Linked DNA regions of Homo sapiens: all the other regions are linked to region 1. The links are contacts of gene promoters, found by promoter capture Hi-C in blood cells and fetal thymus (Javierre and others, 2016). All regions are on one chromosome and are shown on one strand. The core of a region is centred on a gene start or on the middle of the fragment in contact, and the rest is flanking DNA. Distances in the headings are between cores, read along the strand shown. Region 1 holds the start of LRFN4 (leucine rich repeat and fibronectin type III domain containing 4). Region 2 holds the start of BBS1 (Bardet-Biedl syndrome 1). Region 3 holds the start of ANKRD13D (ankyrin repeat domain 13D).

Region 1 (3,873 bases), core at 1-2,500:
CATCCAACTCTCCTGGCCTACAGGAGGAACTTGTTTTCAGTGGTCAGGTAACGTGCCCAGGACTACACTGCTGTGCTGACAGGATCAGAATTCCAATCTTGGGTTTCCCCGAGTTTCCTGCCACCTGGCCCATGGGGATCAGGGCTGGAGGGAGAACGAGGATGGCTGAGGTTTAGGTGGCTTAAGGACCAGGAGACACGGGGAGGTGGTGACTTCCTGTTTCCCAACTGGGCAGACCACTGGTGGTGGCGGGCACAGCTGGAAGGAAACCAGGCTCGCCGAGCCACCGAAGCCCCAGCTTTCTCAACCAGGAAGCAAAGAACCTCCCCCACCTCACGCCGGGAGCCCTTTCTCTGAGAGGAGCTGGTTCCGAGCCGCTCTTCCAGGGAAATGGCCCGGCGGCGACAGAGCGGGAGGGAGGGGCCGCAGGCGCTGCGAGGACGCACAGCTTCCCAATGCGTGCCCCCGGCGGTTGGGAAGCCGCGCCGCGCAGACCAATCCGGCCCGAGGCGGAGGCCGGTTGGCTCCGGAACGCCTGGCCCGCGGGGCGGGCGGGGCAGCTGGGGAGGGAGGGAGAGGCGAGAGGCAGCTGGGGACAGGGCGGGGCGGCGGGGGCGGGGCGCCTGCCCGGAGGCCAAGCCCTCTCGGCCCCACCCCGCAGCAGCCCTGCCAGGGGCGCCGCCCCAGCCCCCCCCACGGCCGAACCCCGTGCCGGTTGGGGACCCTCCACGTGACTCGGTGATGCAGAACGGTTATGACCTTCAGCGTGTGTCTGTGAACGCAAGGGTCCCAGCAACAGTGCGGGTTTGCGCTCGGCCCTGCCCGTGGGTGCAGGGACGTGTGGGTGTGTGGGCATGTGTGGGTGTGTTGGGGAGGGTGCCCAGCGACATGTGACAAAGACGCCCGTCTCCGGGAGATGGTGAAGGGGCCCGCGAGCAGGCGCTTTGTCTGGCTGTCTGCAGAGTGAGGTTCGCGCCGCGGCGGCGGGCGCCCGTGCGGTGCAGGATGCCGGGGCGCCAGGATGGCCGGGGGCGCGCGCGCCTGTGCCAGGGTGAGTGCGCTGCGGCAGCGCCGGGGGACAGCGCGGAGGGCCCGCGCCGGCCCGGGCCTCGGGCGTGACTGGGCGCCACCCGTGGGCGCTGCAGCGGCCGCGTGTCCCCGTGACCTCAGGAGCCGGCCCGGGCCCGGGTGGATCCCCGCGCGCCCCTCCCCGTCCGCCCTCCACGTGCGTGTCCGCGGCGCGCGCGCCCGCCGGCGCGCACCCGCTCGCCTGTCGCCGCCGCCACCGCTAACCGCGCCGGGAAAAGGTGCCGGGAACCGAGCGAGCCGGGGCCGCGGGCCCGAGCGCCATGGGCCCGAGGGTGGGCGGCGGGCGGCCGGTCATCCCCGGGCCTCGTCCCCGCGGGAGAGCGGCCAGGAGTCGGCGGGGGCCGGCCGGGCTCGCAGGGAGGCCGGCCCGCGCCCCCTGAGCGACGGACACCAGGTGAGGGGGCCGCCGGGCGCAGCGCGGGGGCCGGCCAGGGAGGGGCCACGGACTCCACGGGAGGTTCGGGGGGCGCCTTCTCTGGCGGGGGAGGGTATGGCGGGGAGTGGGGAGGCGGCTGGCGATTCCTGGGGACGCCTGGGAAAGGAAGTTCCGGGACCCTCCCTGCTCTCGGTCCTCCTCCGCTTCCTGCCTCATGCCTCACCTTGTCCCCAGCGCCTGGACTCCCCCTTAACTGCTTGGGAAATGTGACCTTTGCTCTGGGGGGCCTGGCCCTGCAGGCCCCAACCTTCCCTCATCTCTGGCGGCCCTCTTGGGCCTCTGACCCAGCCCCTCCCCGGGCCAGGCTCACAGAAGCTGGCTTCTGGGACTGTCCTGGGCCCAAGTGGGCACCTGCGCCAGCCCCACCTGTGCCTGGGCTGTGGCCCCTTCCTACAGGGCGCTCACCATGGCCCCGCCGCTCCTGCTGCTGCTGCTGGCCAGTGGAGCGGCCGCCTGCCCGCTGCCCTGCGTCTGCCAGAACCTGTCCGAGTCGCTCAGCACCCTCTGTGCCCACCGAGGCCTGCTGTTTGTGCCGCCCAACGTGGACCGGCGCACAGTGGAGCTGCGGCTGGCTGACAACTTCATCCAGGCCCTGGGGCCCCCTGACTTCCGCAACATGACGGGACTGGTGGACCTGACACTGTCTCGCAATGCCATCACCCGCATTGGGGCCCGCGCCTTTGGGGACCTCGAGAGCCTGCGTTCCCTCCACCTTGACGGCAACAGGCTGGTGGAGCTGGGCACCGGGAGCCTCCGGGGCCCCGTCAATCTGCAGCACCTCATCCTCAGCGGCAACCAGCTGGGCCGCATCGCGCCGGGAGCCTTCGACGACTTCCTAGAGAGCCTGGAGGACCTGGACCTGTCCTACAACAACCTCCGGCAGGTGCCCTGGGCCGGCATCGGCGCCATGCCTGCCCTGCACACCCTCAACCTGGACCATAACCTTATTGACGCACTGCCCCCAGGCGCCTTCGCCCAGCTCGGTCAGCTCTCCCGCCTGGACCTCACCTCCAACCGCCTGGCCACGCTGGCTCCGGACCCGCTTTTCTCTCGTGGGCGTGATGCAGAGGCCTCTCCCGCCCCCCTGGTGCTGAGCTTTAGCGGGAACCCCCTGCACTGCAACTGTGAGCTGCTGTGGCTGCGGCGGCTGGCGCGGCCGGACGACCTGGAAACGTGCGCCTCCCCGCCCGGCCTGGCCGGCCGCTACTTCTGGGCAGTGCCCGAGGGCGAGTTCTCCTGTGAGCCGCCCCTCATTGCCCGCCACACGCAGCGCCTCTGGGTGCTGGAAGGCCAGCGGGCCACGCTGCGGTGCCGGGCCCTGGGTGACCCCGCGCCTACCATGCACTGGGTCGGTCCTGACGACCGGTTGGTTGGCAACTCCTCCCGAGCCCGGGCTTTCCCCAACGGGACCTTAGAGATTGGGGTGACCGGCGCTGGGGACGCTGGGGGCTACACCTGCATCGCCACCAACCCTGCTGGTGAGGCCACAGCCCGAGTAGAACTGCGGGTGCTGGCCTTGCCCCATGGTGGGAACAGCAGTGCCGAGGGGGGCCGCCCCGGGCCCTCGGACATCGCCGCCTCCGCTCGCACTGCTGCCGAGGGTGAGGGGACGCTGGAGTCTGAGCCAGCCGTGCAGGTGACGGAGGTGACCGCCACCTCAGGGCTGGTGAGCTGGGGTCCCGGGCGGCCAGCCGACCCAGTGTGGATGTTCCAAATCCAGTACAACAGCAGCGAAGATGAGACCCTCATCTACCGGTGAGGATGCGTGCCCCACACCCGGCTGCACTCCCGGCGCCCTTCCTCCGCCCTCTGCTCCCCACAAGGCTTTGCTTCCACCCCTCCTCTCTCTGGGGCTGACACCCCCTCCCCGACCATGGCTGCTGGACTCTTGGAGGAGCAGTGGCCTGGCCTGGCCTGGCTGCCTGAGGGGGCTGGAGCTCAAGGGGCGGCAGAAGGACCCCACCCCGAGATGTCCCAGGTGTCACTGAGCTGTGCAGGCCTCCCCGGCAGCAGGTGGCGGTTGGGTCTGTCTGAAGCACATGGCCCGCGCCCGCGTGTTATTTCTGCCTCTGCTGGTGCCATCCCCCCACCCCATTCCCCTCGCTTGCCTGCGTCCTGTGCCAGTGCACACACCCATCTCCTGGCCACACTCTCCAGCCTGTTCACCTTCCTGAGTGAACCCAAGAGCCCGAGTGGCCCCAGGGGGAGGGGTGTTTGGAGCTGGGAGCACGGGAGTGGGGAGGTGAGGATGGGGCTAGACCCCAGCCCCGGGCTCTGACCACCTGCCCTTGCCTGCAGGATTGTCCCAGCCTCCAGCCACCACTTCCTGCTGAAGCACCTCGTCCCCG
Region 2 (4,327 bases), core at 903-3,402, 350 kb before region 1:
TGTTTCACCTAGTGTGGCACCTGGTGTCTTTTATTATTTATTTATTTATTTATTTATTTTGAGGTGGAATCTCACTGTCACCCAGGCTGGAGTGCAGTGGCACGATCTCTGCTCACCGCAACCTCTGCCACCCGGGTTCAAGCAATTCTCCAGCCTCAGCCTCCCGAGTAGCTGGGACTACAGGCTCATGCCACCACGCCCAGCTAATTTTTTTGTATGTTTAGTATAAACAGTGTTTCATCATGTTGGCCAAGCTGGTCTCAAACTCCTGACCTCAGGTGATCCTCCCACCTCAGCCTACCAAGGTGCTAGGATTACAGGCATGAGCCACCATGCCCAGCCTAAATCTTTATTTGATTGACTGAATGAACGAAAGCAGCAATGCATTTAATACTCCCCCTGTAGTATTTCCTTCCTCACAGGGTTACTGTAAAGAGTAAATTAAGTAATTAACCTAAAACGTAGAGCACAGGTTTTTTTGGCAGAGCTCAGTAAGAAACAGCTGCTGCTGTAATTGTGATTATTAAGATTTTTATGATGATTCAGTTTCCCTATTCAGACCTTTCCCTGCTGTTTTCTCTCCATCTCCTCCCCAGGCTCAGACGTGCAGCTTCTGGAATACGAGGCGTCAGCTGCTGGCCTCATCCGATCCTTCTCTGAGCGTTTCCCAGAGGATGGACCCGAGTTGGAGGAGATCCTCACACAGCTGGCCACAGCCGATGCCCGATTCTGGAAGGGCCCCAGTGAGGCCCCATCTGGCCAAGCTTGAGGAAGATGTGTGGCCTTGCCCCCAATTCCATCAGACCAAGGCTGCAAGTGGCCCTCCATTCGTGTGTGTATTTAGGGGCTGGGGAGGGGGAGGGGCAGGAGCTTGGACCTTGGTACTACCTCAGCTGAGGGTGGTGACACAACCCCTTCCATTTGTCAGCACTTTCCAGCCTGCCAATTGCTTCCCCTCTGTGATCTCATTTCATCTGCACTGCCATACGTGGAGTGAGCAAGACAGGGCTTACCATCCTGTCTACCAGATGAGGAAATGGCAGTTCTGAGAAGTCACTGGTCTAGATCCCGCAGGTGGCACGTGACAGCTAGGGTTCAAAACGTTCTCACCAAATCCAATGCTCCTCACATATTAATTTTATAACCAGACAAATAAATATTAGAGACAACCACCATCTTTGCGGCGTGTGTGGCTCCTCCTTGCCTTTGCCTGTCTTCTCATTTACTCCCAGCAGAGTGATGGGCTCAAGGCCTGGGGAGGGGGCAAGGAGGGCCATTTTTAGCCTCCCTTCCACAACAGGATGTTGACATTATCTCTAGATGAGGATACGCAGTCACAGAGCTGAACATAGCACAATTTTTGCAGCTCTCCTTTGTGGCATTCCTTGCATTTTTAAATGTTCTGGGGCCGGGCACGGTGGCTCATGCCTGTAATCCCAGCACTTTGGGAGGCCGAGGCGAGGGGATCACGAGGTCAGGAGTTCGAGACCGGCTTGGCCAATATGGTGAAACCTCGTCTCTACTAAAAAATAAAGTAGCTGGGCATGGTGGCATGCGCCTGTAATCCCAGCTACTCGGGAGGCTGAGGCAGGAGAATCCCTGGAACCCGGGAGGCGGAGGTTGCGGTGAGCCGAAATCGCGCTACTGCGCTCCAGCGCAAGCGACAGAGCGAGACTACGTCTCAAAAAAAAAAAAAAAAAAAAAAAGTTCTGGGAACCTACAAACTCAACTTCAGTCAGAATCCTCTGCATTTGTCCCATAACCCTCGTGTTTTGTTTCTCTGGGCCTGGACCTCTACAGTAACGCAGCAAGGCAGGACATGGTCCTTTTCAACCGGGTAACCATGAAGATGGAGACAGGAGGAGTTCTTTTTGCTGCTCATAAATGCTAGAAGGGGCTTCTTTCCAACCCTGGAAGCCAGAGGGCTCTGTGGCTGACCCAGAGATTGTAGGACCCAGACGCCTGGAAAGGTGGCTCTGACTGGGAAGGAGCAAAGATAAATATCTTTGAGGAATCTGAGACAGATTCCTCAACCCAGGAAGGTGGCCAGCGCGTCCTCCTGAGCCTGGGTGGGAAAGCTTGGCGCCCGGAACCTTTGTACTCGCCCTTCCCTGTGCTCGGGCACTATTGGGCGTTACGCGAGGGCGGGGCCGGTTGCCAGGACGACGCCTGCGAAGATGGCCGCTGCGTCCTCATCGGATTCCGACGCCTGCGGAGCTGAGAGGTGAAGGCAGGGCTCCTCAAGGCCTCTTTTCCCACCCGTGTAAAGAGGGTCCCTTGGTCCCCGGGCTCTGGGCTCCTGCTGTTCTCGGGCAGTCTGGAAGGACTCTTAAGAGGTCAGATAGGGAAACCGAGGCCTAAGATGTGCATATGTGTGTCTGGAGGTCGCTCGGTGAGCCAGTGGCGGAGCCTGGACTTGTACCCAGACGTTCTGTACCTTATGTTCAGAGTGACCTGTACCAGCTTCCTCAAAGTTTTTTTTTCCCCTCCCATGGGACTCACTCCCCAACTGTCTTTCCCCCACTTCCAGCAATGAGGCCAATTCGAAGTGGTTGGATGCGCACTACGACCCAATGGCCAATATCCACACCTTTTCTGCCTGCCTAGGTGAGTCTCTGGAACCAGGAACCCTGGGTTCTAGTGGGATGGGGAGTCAGACAATGGTCCTGTAGTGAAGCCTCTGGGATTCTGAGACTCTGGTTTTGGCCCTTTTGTTTTCCAGCGCTGGCAGATTTACATGGGGATGGGGAATACAAGGTAAGCATATCACCCTAGCCAGGAGAGTTGAGGGTAGGGGGGTGTACCCAGAAATGAGATTTCCTGACGGCTGAAAATAGGCCCAGCATACTCTGGAATTCACATATACTGTGAAAAAGCACATTTAGCGTTAAATTTTGTTTTTATATGGAAAGTGAAGAGAACTTATTGATTTCATAATACAGACTGCAGAAAGTAAAGCAGATCAAATATTTCTGGGGATTCTACTAAGACAAAGCCTCTTAGTTAACCTGATTTCTTTGTTGGAAGGGCAAATCCCTTGGTTGGGGGTGGGCACTAGAATCTGGAGGGAAAGTAAAAAGGAGGGAAGTGAACGTTTGATGTTTATCAAAAGATTTTAAGATGGGCCATGAGCTGTCAATTTTTGAAGCTGGATAATGGGATATATGGGGACTCATTATATGAGTCTCTCTACTTTTGTATGTGAATGAAAATTTTCCATAGTAAAAATGTTACATTTTAAATTTAATTTTAAGGCCAGCAATCCCAGCACTTTGGGAGGCTGAGGTGGGTGGATCGCTTGAGCTTAGGCATTCGAGACCAGCCTGTCCAACATGGTGAAACACCATCTCTACTAAAAATACAAAAATTAGCCGGGCATGGTGATGGGCACCTGTAATCCCAGCTACTTGGGAGGCTGAGGCAGGAGAATTGGTCAAACCCAGGAGGCGGAGGTTGAGTGAGCTGAGACCATGCCACTACACTCCAGCCTGGATGACAGAGTGAGACAGTTTCAAAAAAAAATATATATATATATATGTGTATATATATGTATATATATGTATATATATGTGTATATATATGTATATATATATACATATATTTAATTTTAAATAAAAATGTAAATTTAAAAAGATACAAGTTTTTTAAAGGTAGAGAAATATATTGGGATAAAAGAAAGGAAGTTAGCATGGATTCAGTATCCATTTCTGGACTAGACATTCCATGGAGGCACATAAACATGGATTTTATTTATTCCCATTTTGTGAATGGGAAAATAGTTTCAAAGAGGTGAAGTTTACTGAATTTGTAACTGGGTCTGTTTGATTCCAAGTTTTGTGCTTTTTCTACCAAAGCTCAGCCCTCACCATGGGCAACAACACCACAATGGATATATCATGTGGGTGGCTAGAAGATAGTCCTGGAATCCCACCCCACACAGAGAGTGCAATAGGACTCAGTGGTTTTTGCCCCCAAATTCCTATCCATAATGTATTCAGTAATTCAGCAAGTGTATAGTGAGTCCCTACTGTGTGTCAGGCATCATGGGGACACTACACTCAGAAATGCATCAGCATGTGGTCAGGAGGAGATACACTGTCGACAATTATTCCATGATATTGATTGAATACCTAGTTTGTATTTGGCTCTGGGCTTACAATAGTGAGGGAAGAGAAACCACAGACACAGTAGCTAATAAGAAATGTTAGCCAGGCACAGTGGCTCATGCCTGTAATCCCAGCACTTTAGGAGGAGGCCAAGGCGGGTGGATCACGAGGTCAGGAGTTTGAGACCAGCCTGGACAACATGGTGAAACCCTGTCTGTACT
Region 3 (3,972 bases), core at 1,312-3,811, 430 kb after region 1:
CCCTCCCAGCTGACAGTCCTCTCCACCTAGTGGCTGTCCAGTGCCCATTCCTCACCTTTTCCCGGGGAGGAGAGAGCAGCTTCTGCCACTTCCCAGGTAAGCAGGAGGAGGTGCCAACAGTGTTAGGCCTGGCACAGTGTCTGGGCTGACTGGGACCGTCTCAGGCCCACAGAACACCCCTGCACAGCAGGCACCAAGCTGAGGCCCCTCCCCAGAAACAGTCACAAGGCACCTCTTCCCTCTAGGTCACACCGCAGCCTCTGGGCCCTTGGCCATCTCTGGCTTCAGCCTCCTCTCTGGCCTCACTGCACAGCCCTAGTAGGGGTCCCTGAGGCCTGAGGGGAACCCCAGCACTAGGCCTCTCCTCTACCCAGAGGCTTCTGGTCAACTTCCCTTTCCCCAGGTCCCTGCCCTAGCCCCGCGGGTGACTAAACAGATACATGTTGCTGCCCACTCCACACAGGGCTTTGCTGGGCATGGCTGGGGCCCATGGCCAAAGCACAGCATGCCAGGCAGAGAAGGGAGGCAGGCAGCTGGGCAGGGTACTCAGGGCTGAATACAAGAGTCAGGGGCAATGGCCTTTGAGCCAGGCCTCCAGCATTGGTGTGGGAAGGAGGGAGGACATTTCTGAGGCAGGGAAGAGCCAGGGACTCATGAGTGGCCCAGGCTGGCCGGAGGACTATAGGAAGGAGCCATGCCTGGAGGCACTGAATGCCAGGCTTAACCTATCCCGGAGCCAGGTGTGTGCTCAGGGCCTGCAGAATGAAGATACAAACGACATGGAGTCCAGACCTGCCATGCTCAGGGAGCCCTTGAAGGTGCGGAACAGGGCTGAGAGTGGTGAGAGCTGGCTCTAAAGTGATTGCCTGGTTACTGAGTACAGGATGTGGGGAGGGAGGTGAAGGACAGGAGGCAGGGAGACAAACCTCCGCAGTGGGAGAGGAAGAGATGAAAAGAGGCCAGACGGGAAGAACGTGGTCCAGCAGAAACAGGCTGGACTTGGGGCTGAGTGAGGCGGGAGTCTGGGGAAGAGGGTAGGTGTGGTTGGGTTGGCTTCGGACATACTGATGGGATAGCATGGGATCCCTGGGCACAGAGATGTCCTGGAGTAAGCTGAAATGTGGACCTGGGGGTGGCATCAGGGTGACAATGGGAACGGACAGTCTCTCTCCCAGGGATGTGGGGGTCAGGGAGAGAGAGGAGGCCGTGGAAGAGGGTTGAGAAGGCACTGTCATGGAATTAAGTGCCAGTGGGGAGCTGTGTTCAAGATGGCAGAAATCAGGAGAGGCTGGAACCAAGAAAGTCCTGTCGGGGTTGAGTTTGGAGAGGGCTCAGGGAAGGGACCGCCTCTGAGAAAAGGGGTGGCCAGGGAGGGCTGCAGTAGTGGTGAGCAGGTGAGCTCTGGGCATTCAGAAGCCTTCGGGCTGCTACCAACCCCAGGACCTCACAGATTGACACCATAGCGTGGGGTGGCAAAGTGACCCCAGATGGCACAGGCGCCATGTGACTACAGGGAGAAGGCAGGGTAAAAATGGCAATCAGGCCTTCCAGCCCAGAGTCTCAGAACTGAGGACGCCCTACAGCAGGAAGTGATGCTCAAGCTAGCTGGCCCTCCTCAATCATGTTCCACGTAGGGAAAGGGAGAATAGAGGGTCAGCCTTGGCCACCTAGCAAAACCAGGGCCCCAGACCCCAGGCTGGGCCTCCAGTAATCAAGGGCCGGAACTGAGCTGACGGAGGCCTGCACCCTAGTTCCGGTGTGGGTGGAGGGGCCGGCCCTGATTTCGAAACTCGCCTTCCTCTCCTGACGCTGGCAGCCAACCGCAGCCTCTGCAAAAGGGACTCGTGCGGCGGGCGAAGGCAGCCGTTCGCCGCGGGCGGTCCTCCGCCGGGACGGCTCTGCCGCTGCCTGGGCCTGCGCCCCTCTCTCCCCGAACTCCTATCCCTGACTTCAGGGCCCCGGGGGCCGCCTCCCCGCATCGCTGGGCCTGCAGACACCGGCCAGGTCCCAGGGGAAGGTGCTTCCCGCTCAGCCGGCAAGCACTTAGTGGCGTCTGCTCGTTGCTCGTCTCCAGGCCGGGTGAGGGGAGCCGGGGCGCCCCACTTCACCCGCACACCCCAGCAGAGTCGGTGACCGCGGGACCTGGGGTAGGAAGACCGGGGCGAGCAAGGGGATCCGCGGGGGAAACGCAGGCATCACGGCTGCAGCAGGACCGCGGCCCGCCGCGCACGCGCGTGCACTACCGAGGGGCCCAGTGCCCGCCCCCTCCGGCCCCGCCTTCCTCTTCCGGACCCGGCTCCGGGGGTCTGCGCAGGGCTCGGGGCGCCTCCTGCGGGCCGCGGGCGGAGCTGTAACCGGGCACCGCCCTCCAGGCCGCCCCAGCGGACCCGGGCCCGACCGAGGTCGGGGCGCAGACCCAAGGCCGGGCATCTCCTCGGGCGCTCGCGGTTGCTCTGCCGCGCGCTGGCCTGGCCGCGGTTGCCATGGTTGCGGGGGGACGGGGGCGCGCGCGAAGCCCCGCCCCGGCCCGGCGCAGCCCCGCCCGCTCCGCCGCCCGCCCCGCCCTCCCTGCCGCCCGCGCTGCCGCCGCCGCCGCCGCCGCCGCTACTGCTGCGGGGGCCGCGGGGGGCGCAGCTGGGGCGCGGCTCGGAGGGGAGGCTAGGGGGCCGTGCCAGGCCCGAAGCCGAGGCGGGGCCGGGATGCGGCGCTGAGGCCCAGCATGGCCGGCCCGGGCCCCACCTTCCCGCTGCACCGGCTCGTCTGGGCGAACCGGCATCGCGAACTGGAGGCCGCACTGCACAGCCACCAGGTGAGGCCCCGCTGGGGCACCCGGCCCTTCCCCCGGGTCCCCCACCCAAGGCTGTGGCCTCCGTCCTGGAGCCCCCCCCCCCCCCCCGCCCGCTCAGCTCCGCAGCCACATCCTGGGCCTTCCTCCCCTGCACGATCCCAAGCCCAGGTCACCGGCCCCTCGCGCCTGAGCCTCTGGCCTCCTCTCCCCTGCGCTGGGCCTTGCCCTGCTCGCCCGAACTCGCTTCCGCATCCTTGCTGACCCAAGCTGAGAACAAGAACTCTGGTCCTGGTCCCCAGGTTCCGCCAAACTCCTGACAACCTGCAGCTCTGCCTGACCAGGCCCCGCCGCCAGACCCCGGCTCTGCCCCTGCCTTCCCTCCTGCCCCCTCCTCTCCCCTGCCAGGACACGCAGGCCACCCTCTGCCATCTCCCTGGTCAGTCCGCCGTCCTTATTTCCCACAGCGATTCCCAACCCTGCTCGCCCTGGCAGCCTCCCTGCCTTGCCCTCTTCTCTCCTGCCCTTTGTGAGTGTCCCGTCTCCCCCAGCACGACATTGAACAGGAGGACCCCCGCGGGCGGACCCCACTGGAGCTGGCCGTGTCTCTGGGAAACCTGGAGTCTGTGAGAGTGCTCCTTCGACACAATGCCAACGTGGGCAAAGAGAACCGCCAGGGCTGGGCAGGTACTGCAGAGGACAAGGGGCTCCCCCTGAGGCTGGCAGGCGGGGGGCAGTGAGCAGCCAGGCCTGGGGTCATCTGGAGGGCTCCCCTCAGCAGCCTGGTGCCCGCAGTCCTGCAGGAGGCAGTCAGCACTGGAGACCCCGAGATGGTGCAGCTGGTGCTCCAGTATCGGGACTACCAGAGGGCCACGCAGAGGCTGGCGGGCATTCCGGAACTGCTCAACAAACTTCGCCAGGTACAGCAGGGCACAGTTATGGAGGTGGGGTACCATGGCAGGGCACCACCCTGGTTACTGTGCCAGGCCTGGCCTTGGAAAGGCACCCAGTTTGTGCAGTGTGCCTCCTGCCACCAGCAAGGAGGTCTGTCTATCTTGACCCCAGCCCAGGGTCACGTAGGAAAGAGAGACGGCCAGGCTCACGTGGGAGAGACTGGACCCTTTGGAAGAGAAGCCTTGCCAGCTTTGGGCCTCCTGAAGAATGCAGATTACCTGGAGCAGGGACTT

Evidence for each region. The method cuts DNA at HindIII sites, captures the fragments that hold promoters and counts their contacts. A CHiCAGO score of 5 or more calls a contact.
Region 2: a contact is called between the fragment with the promoter of BBS1 here and the fragment with the promoter of LRFN4 in region 1, in 1 of 17 cell types (naive B cells). The highest score is 5.4, in naive B cells.
Region 3: a contact is called between the fragment with the promoter of ANKRD13D here and the fragment with the promoter of LRFN4 in region 1, in 1 of 17 cell types (erythroblasts). The highest score is 5.8, in erythroblasts.

What each region holds. Positions count from the first base shown.
Region 1 is chr11:66,855,814-66,859,686 of GRCh38, forward strand. It overlaps LRFN4 (leucine rich repeat and fibronectin type III domain containing 4), which reads left to right and starts at 1,251. Exons shown (of 2, transcript NM_024036.5): 1 at 1,251-3,280; 2 at 3,824-3,873. The coding sequence starts at 1,932. All of the region lies in intron 12 of PC (pyruvate carboxylase), which reads right to left. RefSeq lists silencers at 337-866, 1,027-1,136. The HindIII fragment of the contact is 17,472 bases long and covers 1-3,873 here.
Region 2 is chr11:66,508,483-66,512,809 of GRCh38, forward strand. BBS1 (Bardet-Biedl syndrome 1) reads left to right here and starts at 2,153. Exons shown (of 17, transcript NM_024649.5): 1 at 2,153-2,224; 2 at 2,531-2,607; 3 at 2,723-2,757. The coding sequence starts at 2,178. DPP3 (dipeptidyl peptidase 3) reads left to right here. Exons shown (of 18, transcript NM_130443.4): 18 at 597-1,175. The coding sequence ends at 769. RefSeq lists an enhancer at 2,015-2,064. The HindIII fragment of the contact is 5,944 bases long and covers 2,077-4,327 here.
Region 3 is chr11:67,286,742-67,290,713 of GRCh38, forward strand. It overlaps ANKRD13D (ankyrin repeat domain 13D), which reads left to right and starts at 2,562. Exons shown (of 15, transcript NM_207354.3): 1 at 2,562-2,809; 2 at 3,337-3,472; 3 at 3,581-3,705. The coding sequence starts at 2,720. RefSeq lists enhancers at 468-717, 1,468-1,677, 2,912-3,836, 3,837-3,972 and silencers at 1,898-1,967, 2,148-2,917. The HindIII fragment of the contact is 22,420 bases long and covers 1-3,972 here.